Linked DNA regions of Homo sapiens: region 2 is linked to region 1. The links are contacts of gene promoters, found by promoter capture Hi-C in human tissues and cell types (Jung and others, 2019). All regions are on one chromosome and are shown on one strand. The core of a region is centred on a gene start or on the middle of the fragment in contact, and the rest is flanking DNA. Distances in the headings are between cores, read along the strand shown. Region 1 holds the start of PKP2 (plakophilin 2). Region 2 has its middle 240 kb from the start of SYT10.

Evidence for each region. The method cuts DNA at HindIII sites, captures the fragments that hold promoters and counts their contacts. A contact is called where the count stands out against the background at its distance.
Region 2: a contact is called between a fragment that was not itself captured here and the fragment with the promoter of PKP2 in region 1, in 2 of the 25 tissues and cell types used here (bladder and thymus).

What each region holds. Positions count from the first base shown.
Region 1 is chr12:32,894,557-32,898,258 of GRCh38, forward strand. It overlaps PKP2 (plakophilin 2), which reads right to left and starts at 2,221. Exons shown (of 13, transcript NM_001005242.3): 1 at 1,953-2,221. The coding sequence starts at 2,175. RefSeq lists silencers at 2,220-2,329, 2,530-2,629. The HindIII fragment of the contact is 8,511 bases long and covers 1-3,702 here.
Region 2 is chr12:33,196,894-33,200,620 of GRCh38, forward strand. No RefSeq gene overlaps it. Among named protein-coding and RNA genes, the nearest start is that of SYT10, 240 kb to the right of the region's middle. The HindIII fragment of the contact is 4,237 bases long and covers 297-3,727 here.

The DNA of each region.
Region 1 (3,702 bases), core at 971-3,470:
TTTCAAGAATATAATGAAGATTCTGGAATAGGCACATAGTAGATGCTCAGCAACATTCCCTTTTCTTCTGTTCATGGCTCCATTCCCTCCATTTATGGAAGAGTTGTATCTGCTTGCTCTCTTCCTAGCTGGCCATTCTCAGAGGATAAGAAAGAATATCTAATATGCCTCCTGTGTCTCCTACGCAGGGGAAGCTGATTTGGTTTCAGTTTAGCACTGGACCTATGGGCACAGAGAATGAATGGGTGTAATGGCTCCACTTTTCAAAGACTGGCCTCACTCATCCCGCAGTCTTTAGTCAGACCCCTAAGTCTAAATAAATATAAGGTCTTTCCCTCCATGTATTGCAGCAGTTCTGTGTTTTCTAGACCTCCCCAGCCTTTCAGAACTTCCTCAATTTTATTTAAAGAAAAATGGGAGGGGGCCACGGAGAGGCTTAGCATCTAACAAATCCCACTTTGTATTAATCATTTTAAAACTTAATGATAAAACTGATAAGTTTAAAATTCAGGTTTGGGAGTTTAAATACCAGCTCTGCCACTTACCATCTATTAGAGCTTCAGTGTTACTTAACTGCTTAGTTTCCTCATCTGTAAAATGAGGATGAAAATACCTAACTCACAAGTTTTTAAATACATATATATATATATATCTCAAATGAATGCAAACCACATCGCCCAATTCTTGGCACATAGTATGCACTCAGTTATATTAACTACGATCATTGAACATCTTCTCTTTACCTTTCAAGTATGTTAATATTGACTACGTCATCCTTTAGGATTCTTTTACACACACAGTACAGCCTCCCAGACTCTGCTGTTTGAAATCTCTGGTCTGGCCTGTTAGAATTTTTCTGTTTTCCTAATAGAAACTAGAATGGGTTAGCCTACATTCGCCAATGCCCAAGTTACTTCATACAGAAACAACTGAACGTTGCAGGAAACAGATATTCCAACTTAATTGCTCAATTTCTTTCCTCTTCTTTTTGCTATAAGCCAACATAGTGCTTTTATAATGCAAACTCACATACACAGCAACAAGAAGTAAAACAAGGGTCACTGAGTTGATCCCATCACCTGACTTCAGCAGGGGAGAAAAGGATACATCATGATCTCTAATTTTCACAAGTGGCTTGCCATCTTCTTTCCCTTCCACCTCCCCCGTCTATCAATCATGAACATAGTGTGCATGTGTGTGCTTACACCCCTTTCACCTTCGGGTTTAATTTTTTGGAGGGATCAGACTTGCATCACGCCCGCACTGGTGGGGGTAGGAAGCGCAGCTAGGCGGGCACGGCTGTTGCCGGCAGGGCCAAAGTCCCCTACCTCCTCCTCGGCGTGTTTGTTCCCTGGACCAAAGCCTCCTAACTACTTTTCTTCACTCCCTAGATCCACCACTCGCCTCCCACACAGGGTGGAGCGCCCCGAAGTACTTGCATAAGACAGCACAATCCCAATTTATAGGTTGTAGGAGCGCCAGTGCTGTCGGTTTTTTTCCCCAAGATATTTATGGGGGTCATTAATTATTTAACAAATCTAATAAAATTGAAGGGCTCCTTCTCCCAGAAAAAGATCGTACACACCAAAAATTCTGCATAGCATCTCAAGGTGTTTATAGACTCCCTGAACCTTCAAATTAAGTCCGCACCAGTGAGGGGCGCGGACCGGCGGAGTAGAAAAAGAAAGGGGTGAAATCTTGAAGTGAGTTAGTTAACATTGATAGATATGTACAATATTTAATATACATAGGTACCTATATGACAAAGCTGAGTAATAGGTTATGGAAAAGAGTGCTTTCCACAAGCAAGTCGGTCATACCGAAGACGGCGAGCAACAGGTGGGCAGAACACGGGGTCCCGCACTCCCAGCACGCGGGGTGAGGGCGGGATAGGAGGAGGTGACCGGGTGTGGGGCAGGGGGCGGCGCCGGGGAGCGGCGGGCTCCACTCACCGTTGCCCACGGAGCTGCGGCCCTTCCGGGCGAGGGTCTGCTGCACCTGCTCCTGGATCCGCAGGCTCTTGACTGTCTGGCCGCCGCGGCCGCTGCTCCCCGCCAGCTTCAGCTTGGCCTCGGAGGGCAGCGCCAGGCTGGAGCTGTCCAGTTGTCCCAGGATCTGCTGGCCCAGGACGGTCCGGATGTAGCCGTACTCAGCTGGGGCGCCGGGGGCTGCCATGGGGCCGGTGGGGGCGACCGAGCTGCTCGCCTGCCTCTGGACTCGCGGGCGAAGCCGCCACGGAGCTGGGGGCGCTGGCGCGAGCCCCGCCCCGCTCGAGTCCGGCCCCGCCCCTGGCCCGCCCCCCGCGCCGGTGAGAGGCCCGGGCCGGGGGGGAGCTCGGCCTCGTGGGCCGGACGCCCGGCCTTCCCTGAGGAGGGGGCGCGGCTCCGGCCGGGCACGCGCAGTCGGGCCCGGGGGCGGGGGCGGGGGCGGGCCGGACCCGCTGAGCGCGCGGACACCTGGAGACTTGTACCCGCCCGCGGGGAGGTGGGGAGAGGGGCGCGGTTCGCCTGGGGTCGCGCACGTTGTCGGAGTCCCAGCGGATACCGCCTGCCGGGGCCGCGCCCCGCTCTGCCCACGCCCCGCGCTGGACAGGATGGATTTCCGCTCGATGCAGGGAGGGGCTGCCCTGCAGGCAGGTGAGCCCTCGAGAGTCACTCCTGTTCTTGGACTGAGGCTTGCCTCCGGGATCCCCGAGCGAGTAGTATGTCTGGTTAGTCAGGCTTTGTCGCACTGTTGGAAACGTTTCCTGGTTTTCCTGGACCTGAGGGTGAGAAAGGGCTATTTGGTCAGGCGGAAAGGGCAATATGAGGGAAATGTGCCAAGAAGATAACGTGTGAAATAAAAGACTTTCTAAAGAGAGTGTTTTTTTTCTTAGTACAACGTCAGGACTATGTACTTTTTGCACAGATGCAGTCCCAGAAACATATGTTCTTCCTCATTGAGAGCTTCTGTTTTCTCTTGGATACACAAATTGTACCCAGTACTCTTGCTAACCCATTCCTCTCTTACGAACACACCCACACAGAGAAACTCCAACAAGAGGCTCTAGAGAAGAAATGAATTTTAATAGACGATGCTTTTTAAATAGCCCTGCTAACGTTGATTAAGTCCTCTTTATTACAGGCTCTTTGTAGAGAGATCCACGGAGAGGGCCTCCAACTTTCAATCGAATCTTCCACAACTTGTATTTATCGTGCTATTAATTATGTTTCACCGCAGTTGACTACTGAGAACTTGAGAGCTAAGCTCAACAGAAAGGATCCTTGACCTTAAAGTTTACAACCAAAGCCACTTGTCCTGATTTGCCTCTTTGGACTTAAGAGGCAGAAAGAAAAACATGTATCCCTGGTATTAAGATAATATTCCCTTTGATTGCTTGGGTTTGTATGTTCACTTTCCCTCAAATCACTCAATTGCTGCAAAACCCCACTTACTCAAGTCTGAAGTGTTTGGAGAACGCAGCTTCCCTCGTCTTTGTTTTCCTACCCACACCCTTCTGCCTTTAGACACACACTGAATGCTTAGACACACAATGCACAGGTATATGGCCTCCCTTTTTACATGAGCGTCCAGGGAGTGAAGAGGAAACCAAAGGACTGAAAGCGTGGACAACAGAGTAGTGACAGTTCCGCCACCCTTTGTCAGCAGGCCACATGGCTAAGTGGGAGCCATATGGATGTGAGTCCTGGAAGCAATTGCTCC
Region 2 (3,727 bases), core at 1,165-3,664, 300 kb after region 1:
TTATTTCTTGTCTTCTGCTAGCTTTTGAATTTGTTTGCTCTTGCTTCTGTAGTTCTTTTACTTGTGATGTTAGGGTGTCGATTTTAGATCTTTCCTGCTTTCTCTTGTGGGCTTTTAGTGCTATAAATTTCCCTGTAAACACTGCTTTAGCTGTCTCCCAGAGTTTCTGGTATGTTGTGTCTTTGTTCTCATTGGTTTTAAGTAACTTATTTATTTCTGCCTTCATTTCGTTATTTACCTAGTAGTCACTGAGGAGCAGGTTGTTCAGTGTCTATGTAGTTGTACAGTTTTGAGTGTGTTTCTTAATCCTGAGTTCTAATTTGATTGCACTGTGGTCTGAGAGACTGTTATGATTTCCATTCTTTTGCATTGGCTGAGGAGTGTTTTATTTCCAATTATGTGGTCAATTTTAGAATAAGTGCGAAGTTGTGCTAAGAATAATGTATATTCTGTTGATTTGGGGTGGAGGGTTCTGTAAATGTCTATTAGATCCACTTGGTCTGGAGCCGAGTTCAAGTCTTGAATATCCTGTTTATTTTCTGTCTCATTGATGTGTCTAATATTGAAAGTGGGGTGCTAAAGTCTCCCACTATTATTGTTTGAGAGTCTAAGTCTCTTTGTAGGTCTCAAAGAACTTGCTTTCTAAATCTGAATGCTCCTGTATTGGGTGCATATATATTTAGAATAGTTAACTCTTCTTGTTATGTTGATCCCTTTACCATTATGTAGTGCTCTTCTTTATCTTTTTTGATCTTTGTTGGTTTAAAATCTGTTTTATCAGAGACTAGGATTGCAAGCCCTGCTTTTTCTTGCTTTCCATTTGCTTAGTAAATATTTTTCCTTCCCTTTATTTTGAACCTATATGCATGTCTTTGCATGTAAGATGGGTCCTGAATACAGCACACCAGTAGGTCTTGACTCTTTATCTAATTTGCCAGTCTGTGTCTTTTAATTGGGGCATTTACCCCATTTACATTTAAGGTTAATATTGTTATATGTGAATTTGATCCTTTTATTATGATGCTAGCTGGTTATTTTGCCCATTAGTTGATGTAGTTTCTTTGTAGTGTTGATGGTCTTTACAATTTGGTATGTTTTTGCAGTGGCTGGTACCTGTTTTTCTTTCTGTATTTAGTGCTTCCTTCAGGAGCTCTTGTAAGGCAGGCCTGGTGGTGACAAAATCTCTAACATTTGCTTGTCTGTAAAGGATTTTATTTCTCCTTTGCATATGAAGCTTACTTTGTCTGGATATGGAATTCTGGGTTGAAAATTCTTTTTAAAAATAATGTTGAATATTGCCCCCCACTCTTTTCTGCCTTGTAGGGTTTCTGCAGAGAGATCTGCTGTTAGTCTGATGATCTTCTCTTTATGGAAAACCTGACCTTTCTCTCTGGCTGCCCTTAACACATTTTCCTTCATTTCACCCTTGATGAATCTGATGATTATGTGTCTTGGGGTTGCTCTTCTCGAGGATTATCTTTGTGGTGTTCTCTGAATTTCCTGAATTTGAATGTTGGCCTGTCTTGCTAGTTTGGGGAAGTTCTCCTGGATAATATCCTGAAGCGTGTTTTCCAACTTGGTTCCATTCTTCTCGTCACTTTCAAGTACACCAATCAAACGTAGGTTTGGTCTTTTCACATAGTCCCATATTTCTTGGAGGCTTTGTTTATTCCTTTTCATTCATTTTTCTCTAATCTTGTCTTCAAGCTTAATTTCCTTAAGTTGATCTTCAATCTCTGATATCCTTTCTTCTGCTTGATCGATTTGGCTATTGATACTTGTGCATGCTTCACGAAGTTCTTGTGCTGTTCTTTTCAGCTCCGTCAGGTCGTTTATGTTCTTCTCTAAACTGGTTATTTTAGTTAGCAATTCCTGTAACCTTTTATCAAGGTAATTAGCTTCCTTGCATTGGGTTAGAATACGCTCCTTTAGCTCAGAGGAGTTTGTTATTACCCACCTTCTTAAGCCTCCTTCTGTCAATTCGTCAAACTCATTCTCCATACAGTTTTGTTCCCTTTCTGGTGAGGAGTTGCAATCCTTTGAATGAGAAGAGGTGTTCTGGTTTTTGAAATTTTCAGCCTTTTTGCACTTGTTTTCCTCATCTTTGTGGATTTATCTATCTTTGGTCTTTGATGTTTGTGACCTTCGAATGTGGTTTATGTGTGGATCTCCTTTTTGTTGATGTTGATGCTGAGAGGTGAAGCCATCTGGACTTCCTGGGTGGAGTGGGGACTTGGAGAACTTTTCTGTCTAGCTAAAAGTTTGTAAATGCACCAATCAGCACTCTGTAAAAACGCACCAATCAGCACTCTGTGTCTAGCTAAAGGTTTGTAAACGCACCAATCAGCACTCTGTAAAAACGCACCAATCAGCACTCTGTGTCTAGCTAAAGGTTTGTAAATGCACCAATCAGCACTCTGTAAAAATGGACCAATCAGCACTCTGTAAAATGGACCAATCAGCAGGACATGGACAGGGCCAAATAAGGGGATAAAAGCTGGCCACCTGAGCCAGCAGCGGCAACCTTCTTGGGTCCCCTTCCACGCTGTGGGAGCTTTGTTCTTTCACTCTTCACAATAAATCTTTCTGTTGCTCACTCTTTGGGTCCTCACTACCTTTATGAGCTGTAACACTCACCGCAAAGGTCTGCAGCTTCACTCCTGAAGCCAGGGAGACCACGAACCCACCAGGAGGAATGAACAACTCCGGACGTGCCGCTTTTATAAGCTGTAACAACGAGCTGTAACACTCACTGCGAAGGTCTGTAGCTTCACTCCTGAAGCCAGCAAGACCACAAACCCACCAGGAGGAACGAACAACTCCGGACGCACCATCTTTATGAACTGTAACACTTACCGCGAAGGTCTGCAGCTCCACTCCTGAAGCCAGCGAGGCCATGAACCCACTGGGAGGAATGAACAACTCCAGATGCGCCACCTTTAAGAGCTGTAACACTCACTGCAAAGGTCTGCACTTTCACTCCTGAAGTCAGCAAGACCACGAATCCACCAGAAGGAAGAAACTCCAGACACATCTGAACATCTGAAGGAACAAACTCTGGACACATCATCTTTAAGAACTGTAACAGTCACTGCAAGCGTCCGCGGCTTCATTCTTGGAGTCAGCGAGACCAAGAACCCACCAGAAGGAACCAATTCCGGACACAATGCTATTCATTTCTGTTTATTACATTTCCTTCTTACAGTCAGGCCCCTCTGCTGCAGGTCTGCTGGAGTTTGCTGGAGGTTCACTCCAGTCCCTGTTTGCCTGGGTGTATCACCAGTGGAGGCTGCAGAACAGCAAAGATTGCTGCCTGTTCCTTCCTCTGGAAGCTTCATCCCAAAGGGGCACCTGCCAGATGCCAGCCGGAGCTCTCCTGTATGCGGTGTCTGTCAACCCCTACTGGGAGGTGTCTCCCAGTCAGGAGGCAGGGGGGTCAGGGAACCACTTGATGAGGCAGTCTGTCCCTTAGCAGAGCTCAATTGCTGTGCTTTGGAGACCCATTGCTGTCTTCAGAGCTGCCAGGCAGGAACAGGTAAGTCTACTGAAGCTGTGCCCACAGCCGCCCCTTCCCCCAGGTGCTCTGTCCCAGGGAGATGGGAGTTTTATCTATAAACCCCTGACTGGGGCTGCTGCCTTTCTTTCAGAGATGCCCTGCCCAGAGAGGAGGAACCTAGAGGGGCAGTCTGGCTACGGTGGCTTTGTGGAGCTGTGGTGGAGCTGTGGT